3 separate regions of the Homo sapiens genome follow, and regions 2 and 3 are each linked to region 1. Evidence: promoter capture Hi-C in 16 types of primary human blood cells and fetal thymus (Javierre and others, 2016). All regions are on one chromosome and are shown on one strand. The core of a region is centred on a gene start or on the middle of the fragment in contact, and the rest is flanking DNA. Distances in the headings are between cores, read along the strand shown.

Evidence for each region. The method cuts DNA at HindIII sites, captures the fragments that hold promoters and counts their contacts. A CHiCAGO score of 5 or more calls a contact.
Region 2: a contact is called between the fragment with the promoter of MIR155HG here and the fragment with the promoter of HEMK2 in region 1, in 2 of 17 cell types (naive CD8 T cells and non-activated CD4 T cells). The highest score is 5.8, in naive CD8 T cells.
Region 3: a contact is called between a fragment that was not itself captured here and the fragment with the promoter of HEMK2 in region 1, in 1 of 17 cell types (total B cells). The highest score is 5.3, in total B cells.

The regions. Positions count from the first base shown.
Region 1 is chr21:28,882,948-28,887,846 of GRCh38, reverse strand. HEMK2 (HemK methyltransferase 2, ETF1 glutamine and histone H4 lysine) reads left to right here and starts at 2,480. Exons shown (of 6, transcript NM_013240.6): 1 at 2,480-2,635; 2 at 4,776-4,862. The coding sequence starts at 2,502. It also overlaps the pseudogene HSPD1P7. RefSeq lists enhancers at 2,063-2,621, 2,567-2,626, 2,622-3,181. The HindIII fragment of the contact is 10,284 bases long and covers 2,105-4,899 here.
Region 2 is chr21:25,559,112-25,564,010 of GRCh38, reverse strand. It overlaps MIR155HG (MIR155 host gene), which reads right to left and starts at 1,866. Exons shown (of 3, transcript NR_001458.3): 1 at 1,754-1,866. RefSeq lists silencers at 1,522-1,801, 1,812-1,901 and an enhancer at 2,282-2,331. The HindIII fragment of the contact is 13,141 bases long and covers 1-4,899 here.
Region 3 is chr21:25,587,848-25,592,746 of GRCh38, reverse strand. MRPL39 (mitochondrial ribosomal protein L39) reads left to right here. Exons shown (of 10, transcript NM_017446.4): 9 at 3,865-3,912. Among named protein-coding and RNA genes, the nearest start is that of LINC00515, 7.1 kb to the right of the region's middle. The HindIII fragment of the contact is 1,999 bases long and covers 251-2,249 here.

The sequences.
Region 1 (4,899 bases), core at 1,231-3,730:
GAATATGAAAAGGAAAAACTGAATGAACAGCTGGCAAAACTTTCAGATGGAGTAGCTGTGCTGAAGGTTAGTGGGACAAGTCACGTTGAAGTGAATGAAAAGAAAAACAGAGTTACAGATGCCCTTAATGCTACAAGAGCTGCTGTTGAAGAAGGCATTGTTCTGGGAGGGGGTTGTACCCTACTTCGATGAATTGGTGCCTTGGACTCATTGACTCCAGCTAATGAAGATCAAAAAATTGGTACAGAAACTATTAAGAAAACACTCAAAATTCCTGCAATGACTATTGCTAAAAATGCGGGTGTTGAAGGATCTTTGATAGTCCAGAAAATTATGCAGTTCCTGAGAAGCTGGTTGTGATGCCACGGTCAGATTTTGTGAATATGGTGGAAAAAAGGAATTATTGACAAAACAAAGGTTGTGAGAAGTGCTTTACTGGATGCTGCTGGGGTGGCCTGTTAACTACAGCAGAAGTTGTAGTCAAAGAAATTCCTAAAAAAAGAGAAGGACCCTGTATTGGGTGCAATGGGTGGAACGGGAGGTGTTATGGGAAATGGCAAGTTCTAATGATTAGAATAGCGTTTTACTTTAATTAATGAACTGTGGCAGGAAGCCCAAGGCAGTATTCCTCACCAATAACTTCAGAGAAGTCAGCTGGAGAAAACGACTGAAGAAAAGGCTAGCAGATGTTTAGGAAATCACTATAACAATCAGTTACTGGTTTCAAGTGACAAAATATATAATGTTTTACTGCTGTCACTGTCCATGCCTACAGATAATTTATTTTGTATTTTTGGATAAAAAGACATTTGTATATTCCTAATACTGGGTGCGAGAGCACCTATGGTTCCAGTTCCAGCTACTCAGGAGGCTGAGGGAGGAGGATCGCTTGAACCCAGGAGATCAAGTACAACTCTTTCTATATATATATATTTTTCATATTTTTACATAATAAAATTCTATATGGCAGTTAAGAGGAGTAACCTAACCATATATCAAAACATAAATCTCATATAATGTTGACTGAAAAAGAAATTTGAAAAATATGTCCAACCTAGTACCAGTTATGTAAATTTTAAAATACACCGTATGTTGCTTATAAAGATATGAATGTTTATAAACGTATAAATACAAGATCCATGTTTTTACATGGATTAGATGGACATACACTAAATCCATAAGAGCCTTGGAGAGAATGTTACACAATTAAACTGAAGGCAAATAGAGAAAGAACATCCATCTTATTTGTAATATTTTAGTTCTTGTATTTAAAAAATATTTTAAGGAAACATGAGAAAATACTGTCATTTCTGGGTTTAAAACTTGGGGTTTTGAAATTTGTAACCCAGCCGGGTGCGTTAAAGGCTCACACCTGTAATCTCAGCACTTTGAGAGCCCAAGGCGGGTGGATCACCTGAAGTCAGCAGTTTGAGACCAGCCTGGCCAACATGGGGAAAATCCGTCTCTACTAAAAATACAAAAATTAGGCAGCCGTGGCTGCAGGCGCCTGTAATCCCAGCTACTCCGGAGGCTGAGGCAGGAGAACCGCTTGAACCTGGGAGGCAGAGGTTGCAGTGAGCCTAGCTCGCGCCACTGCACTCCAGCCTGGGGGATACAGCGAGACTCTGTCTCCAAAAAAAAAAAATACATAAGTAGAAATAAAATAAAATAAAATTTGTACCTCAAATACTTTTCTGTATTTTTATTTCTCAAATTTAAAAAACGAGCTGTAAAAATGTTTCATTGCGAAACAAATTTCAGAAATTGACTCAAAAAGAATGCAAATACTTGAATAGTCTAATAACTTACAGATGTTCCAAAACATCAAAGATCCATTCACTCAAAAAGGCACCAAGCCCAGCCAGTTTTAAGGCTTTCTACCTAATGTTCCAGAAACAGTGTCCTAACTCACATAACGAGGGTAGCGTAATCTTGGTAAAAAAAAACGGAGCCAGATTATTAGCCTCCCCAATTCAGCAGTGTATTAAACCGCATCATCTTGCTTAAGGTTTATAAAAAGAGTGCATTCATGATTCATCAGGAAGGCAATTTATAAAGTACAGTAAAAAAACGAGGAAAGTCTTCATCTTTATAGCGTAAAGCTTAAAGTTCAGCTGACAAAAAAACAGTAAAATTTATTATGTATTTTTTCAAATCCTTGCAAACTAGGAATAAAACAGAATTTCCAAATATCATTAGAATGAAGAAAGAACATTCACCTTAGTCAAAAACAACTCAGAATGCCCACTATCAGGTTCTAGTTCACAGAATAAAATTTAAATGTTCCAAAGAAGAAAGCAAATGTCAATAGTCACGGATTATACAACTGTCTACTTAGCAATTTCAAGGAGAGCCACTGACAAATTTAGAATTAAGACCCAACAACAACACACTGGTCGCCCGGGACGCCAGCCCCACTCCTAGGCCTGCGCATGAGGGTGAGGGCATGCGCATGCGCATGCGCACGCCCTGCGCACGCGCATGGAACGCAGCGAAGGACTATGGCAGGGGAGAACTTCGCTACGCCGTTCCACGGGCACGTGGGCCGCGGCGCCTTCAGCGACGTGTACGAGCCCGCGGAGGACACGTTTCTGCTTTTGGACGCGCTGGAGGCAGCGGCTGCCGAACTGGCAGGGTGCGAGGAGGGGAGGGGCTCTGACGGGAAAGGGTTGCGGCTTTCTGAAGAAGTGCGGTGGAGGAGGGCCGGAACGGTGACTATCACCGCCCTGAGCCGGAGCAGGCGGGGTCCACTTGCAGATGATTGACAGCCAGGACGCCGTAATTGAGAATTTTCCTGTAGCTACAAGTAATGAGTGTGCCGGGGACGCATCTCCTTTGCCAGGGGGCTGCTCTGTCTCATGAGCTCCCTGACTGCTTACCATGCAAAGGCGTATCTTTTCCTGTCGCCTGTTAATCTGAAGAACACATGTCCCTGAGAGAAGCGATAGTATAACACGTTTGGAAACAAAATATTCCGGAAACATTGCTTATTAATATTTTTAAAGTATTACATATTAAAATTGCATGGTATTATTTGATTTACTCAGCACATAGAAAGCACCCTTAACAAACATGAAAGAAAGTTGTGTTACTGGAGTGGGGAAATATTTTTAAACCCACTGAATAGCATACTCTAGCACCAGCCAGTCCTCACATGTGGCTACAGAGCGCTTGAAATGTGGCTAGTGCTATTGAGGAACTGAATTTTTCATTTAATTGTTACCAAAAAAAAGTTACATGCAGCTAGCAGACAATAGTCTACCCTAGCACTTTATTTAAATGGATTTATTGAAGTGATCGCCATCAATTTTAAATTAATAGCAGAAGGAATGAATACTGACATTGTGATTTTTAAATGTAAGGAATTTGGGTTGTTAGATTTGTTTGAAGATAAGATGAACTGGGTTTTCTCAGGATGGAACAAACAGCTTTCAGGTTTCAAAGATCTATATTGTATTTATTTATCCCTCTTAAACTTGGTCATATTTCTCCAGTATAAAATGTCCCAGCTCTTATTAAACTAGTCTTTCATTGTAGATGATGGAACTTTTGGATCTACTGGAATATACAGTGGAACAGTACTGTTTTATAACTTGTCTTTTCTTCTCAAGATAGCCCAGAAAGATTTACAAGCACAAATTGCACTGCAAAGTATGCTGTAAAAGGAGCTGATTTTGTTATAAAGTCTTGGGTTATTTCTAGTTTGGAATTCTAATTATTTATGAGACCATGATAGTTATTTTCAAAGAGAAGCCACCTGGTGAGATTCTCAGACCTTACTACCACCTAATAAAGACTTGTCAGATGTGTAGACTGGTTCCAAAAGTTTAAAACCTCTGGAGCTTGTCACTGGGTAGTTGTTTTGGGAGTTCAGTGCTAAAAATTTCCCTAAATGCCATCAAGCTGATCTTTTTAATGGGGATGATTTATGCTTTTGATGCATGTATAACATTATAGAGGGCTGGCACTGTGGTTCGTGCCTATAGTCCTAACTACTTGGGAGGCTGAGGTGGGAGGATCACTTGAGCAAGCCCAGGAGTTAAAGGCAGCAGTGAGCTGTGATGGCACCACTGCACTCTAGCCTAGGTGACAGAGCAAGAGCCTGTCTCTAAAAAAGAAGCAACTTCCAAGATTATAGGCAAGAAAATAAATTTAATGGAAAGATAAAGTACAGTAGAATGAAGATTTTATAGTTAACAGCATTCTAAGATGGTTAACATTCAAAGATCAGATACTATTTTCCCAATTAGCATATAGCTGTCCAGAAAAAGAATTTTTGTCCTGCTCTATTATTGGGGGACCTTTTAATTCTCTAGGATATACTGATGGCTCTATGAATGTTAGGTATTAAAAATGATAGAGGAACTTTTTTCAAAAATAAATTTTGTAATAATACAAACTTTATTTTAGGAAATACTAAGCTAGGAGCTCCTTGTGCGAAGGAATGATGTCTTTCACATTAATATTTCCAACCCTAGATTAACATTTTTCCATACTTTTTAATGTAATGGTTTGTTGAAATTAACTGAAAGCCATGTTTGGTAATAGATAACTTTTATGGACTTATATTACGTACCCAAAATATTAGTAATTTTGAGTTATGCAATATTAAGTACAAAGTAGTTGTCAGAAATTATAAATTTCTATTTTCATATATTTGCAGGTGAGTGATGATGCTAGAGAAATATATATGCTAGAAATAACACTAGCATGAGAGTTTTCTGTGAAGAGTATTTTGATTCTACTATACTAATATTTATTTATTTTTTTTTCAGAGTGGAAATATGCCTGGAAGTAGGGTCAGGGTCTGGTGTAGTATCTGCATTCCTAGCCTCTATGATAGGCCCTCAGGCTTTGTACATGTAAGTATATCATATTCATCTAGATCTTCCACTGACA
Region 2 (4,899 bases), core at 617-3,116, 3.3 Mb after region 1:
TGTCTAGCATAGCGTCCAGCACAGGCAGACTATGATGCCTGTTTTTTTTTTGTTGTTGTTTTTTTTTTTTTTTTTTTGGTAAAGACCAGTGAATTACACTTTTTACACATGACTAGGTTAAAACAAAAGTAGACATTTGTGCAAACACCACTGTTCTCCCTTGAAGTGGTTGTAGGTCTCAGACAGTGCTAATTTTTCTCTTTCTTAATGTGTGTGGTTAGGAAGCTGGGTCCTGTGGCCAGAGTGAGCTGACCCACTATGTGAGGAAACTTACTTATCACAGCCTAATAAGGAGTAGTCCTTGCAGCAGAAGTAATTACTAAATGTGCTTTGGTCATTTGACAGAAATCAGGGAGGCAGCAAGGAGTCATGGAAATGAGCCCAAACTGAGAGTCAAAACCCTGTGGTCTGCCGACACCCCCATCCCACATCCGTACCTAAAAGCAGGCTGTGCACTAGGGACCTAGTGACCTTACTAGAAAAAACTCAAATTCTCTGAGCCACAAGTCCTCATGGGCAAAATGTAGATACCACCACCTAACCCTGCCAATTTCCTATCATTGTGACTATCAAATTAAACCACAGGCAGGAAGTTGCCTTGAAAACTTTTTATAGTGTATATTACTGTTCACATAGATAAGCAATTAACTTTACATATACCCGTTTTTAAAAGATCAGTCCTGTGATTAAAAGTCTGGCTGCCCTAATTCACTTCGATTATACATTAGGTTAAAGCCATATAAAAGAGGCACTACGTCTTCGGAGAGATGAATGGATATTACAAGCAGTAATTTTGGCTTTGGAATATACACATAATGTCCACTTGACCTCATCTATTTGACACAAAATGTAAACTAAATTATGAGCATCATTAGATACCTTGGCCTTTTCAAATCACACAGGGTCCTAGATCTGCTGTGTGATGCTGGAAAAGTAACTTCACTTCTGTGGGCCTCAGCTCCTTAATTTTTAACATACTTTGGATTCTTATATCTTTGTCAGCTGTCAACTTCAGTGTTTTCAGGTTAAATTCTATCCATAGTCATCCCAATATACCTGCTTTAGATGATACAAACTTCAAAAGATCCGGCTCTCCCTCGTAAAACGTGGAGGACAGACATCAAGGGGGTTTTGTGAGTAAAGAAAGGCAACCGCTCGGCAAAAACGCACCCTGGCACAACAGGAGCGAATAAATACAGACGCTGATTGAGCGTTTGCTCCATCTTCACTTCTGTTAAATGAAGACATTGATATCTAAAATGCTATGAGTCTAACTTTGTAAAATTAAAATAGATTTGTAGTTATTTTTCAAAATGAAATCGAAAAGATACAAGTTTTGAAGGCAGTCTCTTTTTCCACCCTGCCCCTCTAGTGTGTTTTACACACTTCTCTGGCCACTCCAACAGGGAAGCTGGTCCAGGGCCATTATACAGGTACGTCCCCAACCATCCAAGGAAACTTTGCAAAGAAGCTCAAGTATTAGGTTTCGAACACCCCTCCTTCCCCCTGCCTCTGCCCGCGGGAATCCATCCAGCGCAATCTCTGGTCCCGGGCGAGGCGACACCACTGAGTCCCCAGGGGGCACCCGCAGGCGCGCGCGGGACCAGGCCGGGCTCCACGGCCACGTGCGCGCTGCCCCCGCCTTGCCTCGCCAGTTAACCCGGCGGTGACCCTCGCACCGAAGTCCCCCGGCGTCCCTGCCACGTTCAAGAGAGGAAAGGCGGGCGGGAGCGCGAGACTGAAGTCGGCGTACCTGCAGTGCCAGGAGCGTCTCCTTGGTTCCCCGCGCTTGCTCTGCGGGCGGCTCGGGGCTCCGCTATCCGCTCCCTTCCCGAGGCTGCAGGCGGCGCTGGGCCCGGGCTCGGCCGCGCACAGGAAGCCCGCGCCTGCGAACGTGCGACCCTTTTATAACTCACTTGTGACTCATAACCGACCAGGCGCCTTTTCTGCAACCCCCCCCCCCTTCTCCCCCCTCCTGCCTGTTCTTGGAACCTACAGCTTGAAAAACTTTTTTCTTTTTAAAGGAAAAGTCGAAAAAGCCCAGCGCCCGGGTAGTTGGTGTTTTCCCCTTTCCCTTTCTCGTGGGTCATTGCGTGTGTGTATTTTTTTTCTCTCAACACACGCCGTGTACTTTCCTGCACCGCGCCGCAAGGCTTGGGCTCCAACCTTTGTTCTTAAAGAAAAGGAAACGCCTTCAAATGACGGCCCAGACGTCGCCCGAACTTTCAGTCGGCTGGAGGGGGAAGTGGCGACTTCTTGCAACTGGGTGGCAGGAGTGTCTCTACTCTCTCCTTGCAGGGAGCCCGAGAGGAGCAAGTGGGAGGTTTTTCCTCCTGGACCGAATCAGCTGGAGACCAGCAGGTCCCTAAGAGAGGAAGAAATGGTCTTCAGGCGATCCTGGATTTCATCCCTACCTCATCACCCTTCAAGAGCCCGCGTTTGGTTTGGAATACGTAACTGGGCTTTGAGAACGTTTGTACTGTGTCTGGTACCCGCATTTATACTCGGGATGTCAAGATATAGGACTTAAAACTTCAAAAATTTTGACCTCAACAACATTCTCCCCCTGCCCTCCACTCCCATCTCCAGGACATATTCCTGGAGCATATGGGACTTCGGTCGTTTTAATTTTTGGTTTTGTCGCTTCTCTCTTTTCTCCCGGACCCTGCCACAAGGGGAACATTTTCCTGGAGCAGCCATTTGATTTTGGGGGATGGAAAGGAACAAATAGATCTAAAGCCTGGCAAGTTTATCCTACAAGCCTAGTCGAGTAACTCATTCATGGGTCTCAGTTCAATAAACGTTTAGACTTGAAGAAGAATAAGGAAATATGGGGAAGAGAAGGAGGACAGGAATAGATCTAGCCTCATCAACATGTGACTGGGGCCTTTTTGTAAGAAAGACGGGGCCACTGCTGGATTGCATTGCAAGTATCCAGTACTTGGACCTCCCTGTCAAGGGCACAAGACATTTTAGAATAGTTTGTATTAAACTGATGCCAGTTACATGTCAGAATACATGTCAGAGCTGGAAATCCCATAGTACTTAATTTACAGATGGCTCAGGTTGGTTAAGGAACTTGGGAGCATTTTAAAACCCTCTATTCTTAAGATACATGCTTTTTCTCTTATAATTCAAACAAGAATAATCATGATGATAACAACTAACACTTATAAAGCATTTACCATGTGCCAGATCCTGTCCTAACACTCCTTATATGCATTAACTCTTTCAGTCCTCACTATGATCATATGAGGGAGGAGCATTATAATCTCTATTTCCAGATGAGGAAACTGAGCACAGAGAGATTAAACATGTTACCTTAGATCCTAGTAAGTAGTCAAGCTGAGATTCAAACTCAGTTCCAACCCTGGAGGGCTGGCTCCGTAGTCCAGTCTCCCTGCTTTCCAGATCCATGTGACGTTGAGGAGCTGGGGAAGTTGTGCAGTGGGGCATGTGGCAAGGATGCATGGTCCCCACCCAGGTGGGGCACGTCCCTCTGCTGGTTACAGATGCCTACAATGCCTTTCTGAATTTCCCATTTCTCATTCTAGGTTGAACTATAAGAAATTGCCCATAGGCAATTCTAGGGTGACCTTTCATCCCCAGAATGACAAGTTTGTATAATGCACTTTAATAGAAACAGGAAATTGCTCAATCCTCCCTTCTCCCAGTGGTGGAAGTAATTTCAGGTCATGTGCAAACCTCCGCATTTTAGGTCCCAGTTTGAGACACCCAGAATAGTGGATGGATAAATGGGTTTTAGGAGTCAAATACACCTGCATTTTACACTAATTCTAGCTGTGGAATCTGAACGTTAAACTTTTTATGTCTCAGCTTCCTGTAAATGACAATAATGATGTCTCCCATCAGGGATTACTATAGACTGAATCATGTTCTCTTCAACTTTATATGTTGAAGCCCTGATCCCCAATGTTATCCCCATTTGGAGATAGGGCCTGTGAGGAGGTGATAAAGGTTAAATGAGGTCAAAAGGGTGGATCACTAATCCCATAGAGCTAGTGCTCTTATGAGAAGAGGAAGAGACACCAGAATTCCCTTTCTCTCAGAAATCAGTCAAAGCAGAGGTCATGTGAGCACACAATGGGATGGTGGTTTCCTGTAAGCCAGGAAGAGAGTCCTCACCAGAAACCGAACCCTGCAGGACCTTGATCTGGAACTTTCTAGCCTCCAGAATGTGAGAAAATAAATTGTTGTTGTATCAGCCATCCAGTCTATGGTATTTTCTTATGGCAACCCTAGCAGACTAAGAGGGATATGATGATTAAATAAGGTGATGGATAAAAAGTACCTGCTCCAGGCCAGGCGCGGTGGCTCATCCTGTAATCCCAGCACTTTGGGAGGCTGAGGTGACTGGATCATGAGGTCAGGAGATTGAGACCATCCTGGCTAGAATGGTGAAACCCTGAATCTACTAAAAATACAAAAAAGAAAAAAAAATTAGCCGGGCATGATGGCGGGCACCTGTAGTCCCAGCTACTCTGGAGGCTGAGGCAGGAGAATGGCATGAATGCGGGAGGCGGAGTTTGCGGTGAGCCAAGATCGCGCCACTGCATTCCAGCCTGGAATGCGAGCGAGACTGTCTCAAAAAAAAAAAAAAAGAAAAAAAAAAAAGGACCTGCTCCAAATGGATAGCTTGAGAAAGTAAGAGCTGGCCACCTGCCGGGACAAGTACCCCATGGATGTTGTTGTGGGCTGAATTGTGTCCCCCTCCCCCCACCTCCCAAATTCATATATTGATGTCCTAACACCCAGTACTTCAGATGAGATCGGGTGTGTGTGGGGTGGTATGGCTGTAGACCAACCAGTACTTCAGAATATAACCTTATGTGGAAACAAGGCCTTTGTGGATGTAATTAGTCAAGATGAGGTCTTATT
Region 3 (4,899 bases), core at 1-2,500, 3.3 Mb after region 1:
ATACCAGTTTGAAGAATATAAACTTTTAATTTTTCTTAAGTTATGTGACACTAATATTTTATAAACTCAGGTTTATGATTAAAAACAAAGTTGCCCAGGGTGTAAATATACAATTACAAAAGAAACATTAGTTGAAAAAATTAAATTGACATAGCATTTAAAAATTTCAAGTTAGCATAGGTGAGGGTACATTGACAGAGGGGGTATTAGAGTGCGTATTGGTAAGACTTCCTGGAATGCCTTTTAAGCTTAAATTTGGCATGCTCTTCCCTCTAATTTTAATGATCCATCATGACCCGAAGCCTGACATTTTCCACATTGCTCCCACCCCTTGCTAATCTTTTTATTTAAATTTTTGATTTTGAGATAATTGGGTTATAAGACATAGAGAGATCCCATGTACCTTTACTTGGTTTCCTCAATGGTAGCATCTTGCAGTACTAAAATACAGTATCACCACCAGGGTATGGACAGCGATACAATGAAGATACAGGACAATTCCTTCACTACGGGGATCCCTCATGTTGGCCTTTTATAGACACACGCATTTACAGCCACTTCCCTCTGTTGCCCCCATTACCCTGCCTGCTTACCCCTGCCAACTACTTATCTGTTTTCCTTTTCTATAATTTTGTCACTTCAAGAATATTGTATGAATGGGATCAAACGGTATGTAATTTTTTGGGATTGGCACTTTTCACTCAGTATAATTCTCTGGAGATTTCATCCGAGTACATTGAGTATATCAGTAGTTCATTCATTCTTATTGCTAAGTAGTATTACTTGGTCTGGATGTATCATGGTTTGTTTAACCATTCATCCATCAAAGGACATCTGAGTTATTTTCAGTCTTTGGCTATTACAAATAAAGCTGCTGTGACATTGTGTGCAGGTTTTTGTGAATATTTCTCTGGGATAAATACCCAGGAGTGCAATTGCTGGGTCATATGATAAGTGTATGTTTAGTTTTTTAAGAAACAACCAAAGTGTTCCAGAGTGACGGTACCATTTTACATTCCCACTGGCAATGTGTGAGTGATCAGTTTTTCCACATCCTCACTAGCATTTGATGCTGTCACTACTTTTTTTTTTGTTTTAGTCATTCTGATATGTTTGTAGTGATTTCTCATTGTAGTTTTAATTTGAATTTCTCTGTTGACCAATGGTATTGATCATTTTTTCATGTACTTATTTGCCATCTGTATATCTTCATTGGTGCAATGTCTGTTTATGTCTTTTGCTAGTGTTCTAATTAGATTGTTTTACTTTTTAACAGTTGAGTTTTGAGAGTTCTTTATATGTTGTAGATACTAGTTTTTTGTTAGATATGTAGTTTTCAGATTTCTCTCTTTTTCTGTCTGTACCTTGTGTTTGTATATGTGGCTTGTTTTCTCATTCTCTGAGCAGCCTTTTGCAGAGAAGTTTTTAATTTTGATGAAACTAGTTTATTAAAATTTGATAACATTTTTGTTTTTATAGATTATGTTTTTGGGGTTAATTCTAAGAACTCTTTGACCAGTCCTACATCCCAAAGATTTTCTCCTTTTTTTTTTCCCTCCTAAAAGTTTTAGAGTTTTACATTTGTTTAAATCTGTGGTCCATTTTGAGTTAATTTTTCTATGAGTGTGAGATTTAGGTTTAGGTTTTTTTTTTTTTTTTTTTTTTTTGTGGGCTATAGATGTCAGATTGCTCCAACACCATTCGTTGAAAAGGCCACTCTTCCTCCACTGAGTTACTTTTGCATCTTTGTTAAAAATTAGCTGAGCATATTTATGTAGGCCTATTTTTGGGTCCTCTATTCTGTTCCATTGATCACATATGTTTAGCTCTCTACCAGTACCACCCAGTCTTGATTACTGTAGCTCTAAATAGGCTGTGAAATCAGGTAGAGTAATTCCTCCCTTGTTACTGTTTTTTAATCAAAATTGTTTTAACTCTTCTAGTCTCTTTGAGTTTCCATTTAATGTTAGGATAATATTTTCAATGTCAACAGAGTCTTCCTGAGATTCTGATAAGTCCATTAGACCTGTATAGCAGTTTGGGGAGAATTGACATCTTTAATATGTTGAGGTTTCCAGTCTATGAACTTACTGTATCTTCTTATTTATTTATATCTTCTTTCATCCCTCTCATTTTGTAAAATTTAGCACACCTCTCCTATACATTTGACTTTGACTTTTCTCCACATACCTGCTTCCTTTCCTAGCCTTCCCAATTTCAGAAAATGGGATCATCCTTTAACTCAAGCTTGTCCAACTCACAGCCCATGGGCTGCATGCAGTCCAGGACGGCTTTGAATGAGACACAAATTTGTAAACTTTCTTAAAACATTATGAGGTTTTCTTGCGATTTTTTTTTTTTTTTAGCTCATTAGCTGTCATTAGCGTTAGTATATTTTATGTGTGGTCCAGGACAATTCTTCTTCCAGTGTGGCCCAGGGAAGCCAAAAGATTGGATACCCCTGGTTTCCTTAGTTGTTTAAGGTAATCCTTGATTCTCTTTTCCCCTCATAGCCATGCCCCAGCCCATCCATCCGCAAGTCCTTTCAACTTTTAACTCTGAAACATATTCTGAATCTATGCACCTTATAACATCTCATCTACTACTACTTCCCTTATCCAAGTTCCTCTTTGTTTTCACTCACCTTCCTTGCTTTCACTCTTGCCATCTACAGTGCATTTTCCACTTAGTAGCCAAAGTGATCTTTTTAATACACAATCTGTTATGTACTTCCTCTGCCCCAAACTTTCCAATGGCTTCCCTTGAACAAATCCCAACTCTTTACCCTGTCTCACAAAGCCCTGCATTATCTGGTCCCTGCCTGCTTCTCTGACTTTATCTAACACCACTCCTTTCCTCACTCACTATATTCCAGCCACAGCTTAAGGTCTCTGCACCAGCAGTTCATTCCGCCTGAGTCAGGCATGGTTTTCCCTTTAAACATACCAGTCAGCTCTTTCCCTGGAAGGGTTTGTATGTTGATATTTATTAATTTTACCTTTTATTATAGATTTTATGAGCTCATTCAGTGTGGAGTAGTCACTGGCCTGCCCATATGTCTTGTTACCACTTTCAGTTGACCTAATAAAATTGATGTGGTCATGATACACTTTGCACAGTTTTCTTTAATGCATTCTGATAATCCTCTGCTACAGGAGGTTGTTATGGACTAAGGAAATTGAGTTTAAATTTTACTATTGTCTTGGGAGGCTGAGGCAGGAGAATTGCTTGAACCTGGGAGGCGGAGGTTGCAGTGAGCTGAGATCGCACCACTGCACTCCAGCCTGGGCGACAGAGTGAAACTCCATTTCAAAAAAAAAAAAAATTTACTATTGTCTTTGTTAGGTTTTACTTATTCTTTAGGGTAACTTGATGAATCCTCTGCTTCTGCCATTTCAGTGTGAAGATGTCACAGTTGGTTTTTAATGACTGTCTTCTTGTGATTGCTTATGATTTGAAGAATGACTTCTAGAATGTTGAAACTGGCTGTTTAAGGATTGAACCACAGTCTATGGGAAAGTAGGGCAGATTTTTGCTTCCTATTAGAAGAAATGCTTTCTATGATGGAAATGATTAAGATGGGCAAAAGTGAAAGAAGGGCACGTTCAATCCTTAAGCGTTTTTTTCTTAAATGCTCACTGCAACCTCTGCCTCCCGGGTTCATGCGATTGAAGAAAGCAAAAAAGCAGCTATCCCCATGTAGCACCTTTTTTTGCTACTATGATCCACTTTTATAACCACTTATCTAAATTAGTACTGCCTAGCTTTTTATTTATTTTGTTCTAAAAGCTATATAAAGACTCTGTCCTTTTTACTTTGACATTACTGCTTCATTTAGTTCATCGCAAATCTTTTCTTTTCAAGGCACATTTTACAATATGGGATAAGCTATTGGAAAGATCTCGGAAAATGGTAAGTGTTTTTGACAGCTATTGAGTACTCTTCTATAAAGAAATTCATCAAAATTAACCAATAACAACCAAAGGGGGGAAAAATGAAAGAAACAAAGAGAAAGGAAAAAAGTAAGTTGTCTCAATAGTCAAAGCAGTGTTGTGATTGTTCACTAGTGTGTTGGTAAGGGTAAAGTTGTAACTTGGCAGTTCTCTTTTGATTTTATTTGTTAATATCGTGAAAATGATATTGTAGAACTTGAAGAGAAATAAGAATATTACTATGTAATAGTAATAGTTCTTAATAGTTGTAATGGTATCAGTTAGGTCTTAGGATTTATTTTGTAAACTTAATGAATATTTAGAGGATTAAGATTTGTCAGGTGTATTTTAAAGCCGCCTTTAGCCATTAACAGTAAATGTGCAAATATCCTAATGTCCTGAAAAACCAGATTTGAATGTTTGTGTTTTTGTAGTTTATTCTTTGTCATTAGCATTTAGACTTAATGAGTAGGAATGATAGTATTTCTTTTCTTTTTTTTTTTGAGACAGAGTCTTGTTCTGTCTCCCAGGCTGGAGTGCAGTGGCGCGATCTCAGCTCACTGCAACCTCCACCTCCCGGGCTCAAGCGATTCTCGTGCCTCAGCCTCCCAAGTAGCTGGGACTATGGGTGCCCACCACTACGTCCAACTAATTTTTTTGTATTTTTAGTAGAGACAGGGTTTTACCGTGTTAGCCAGGATGGTCTCGATCTCCTGACCTCGTGATCCACCCCCCTCAGCCTCCCAAGGTGCTGGGATTACAGGCGTGAGCCACCGCGCCCGGCCCGGGTGATTGTATTTCTTGACCACAACTATTCCTGTTTCCTATTTCATAGGCTAAGTGTGCCTCTTTTACTTAGGTTATCTGATAGCTGTCCTGTGTAATCTGTCCTCATTAGGACTTCCTCCTTATCCTAATTTCCCACAATGCCACAAACACTGGTTAAGCTTGCAGGCACATTAAGCAT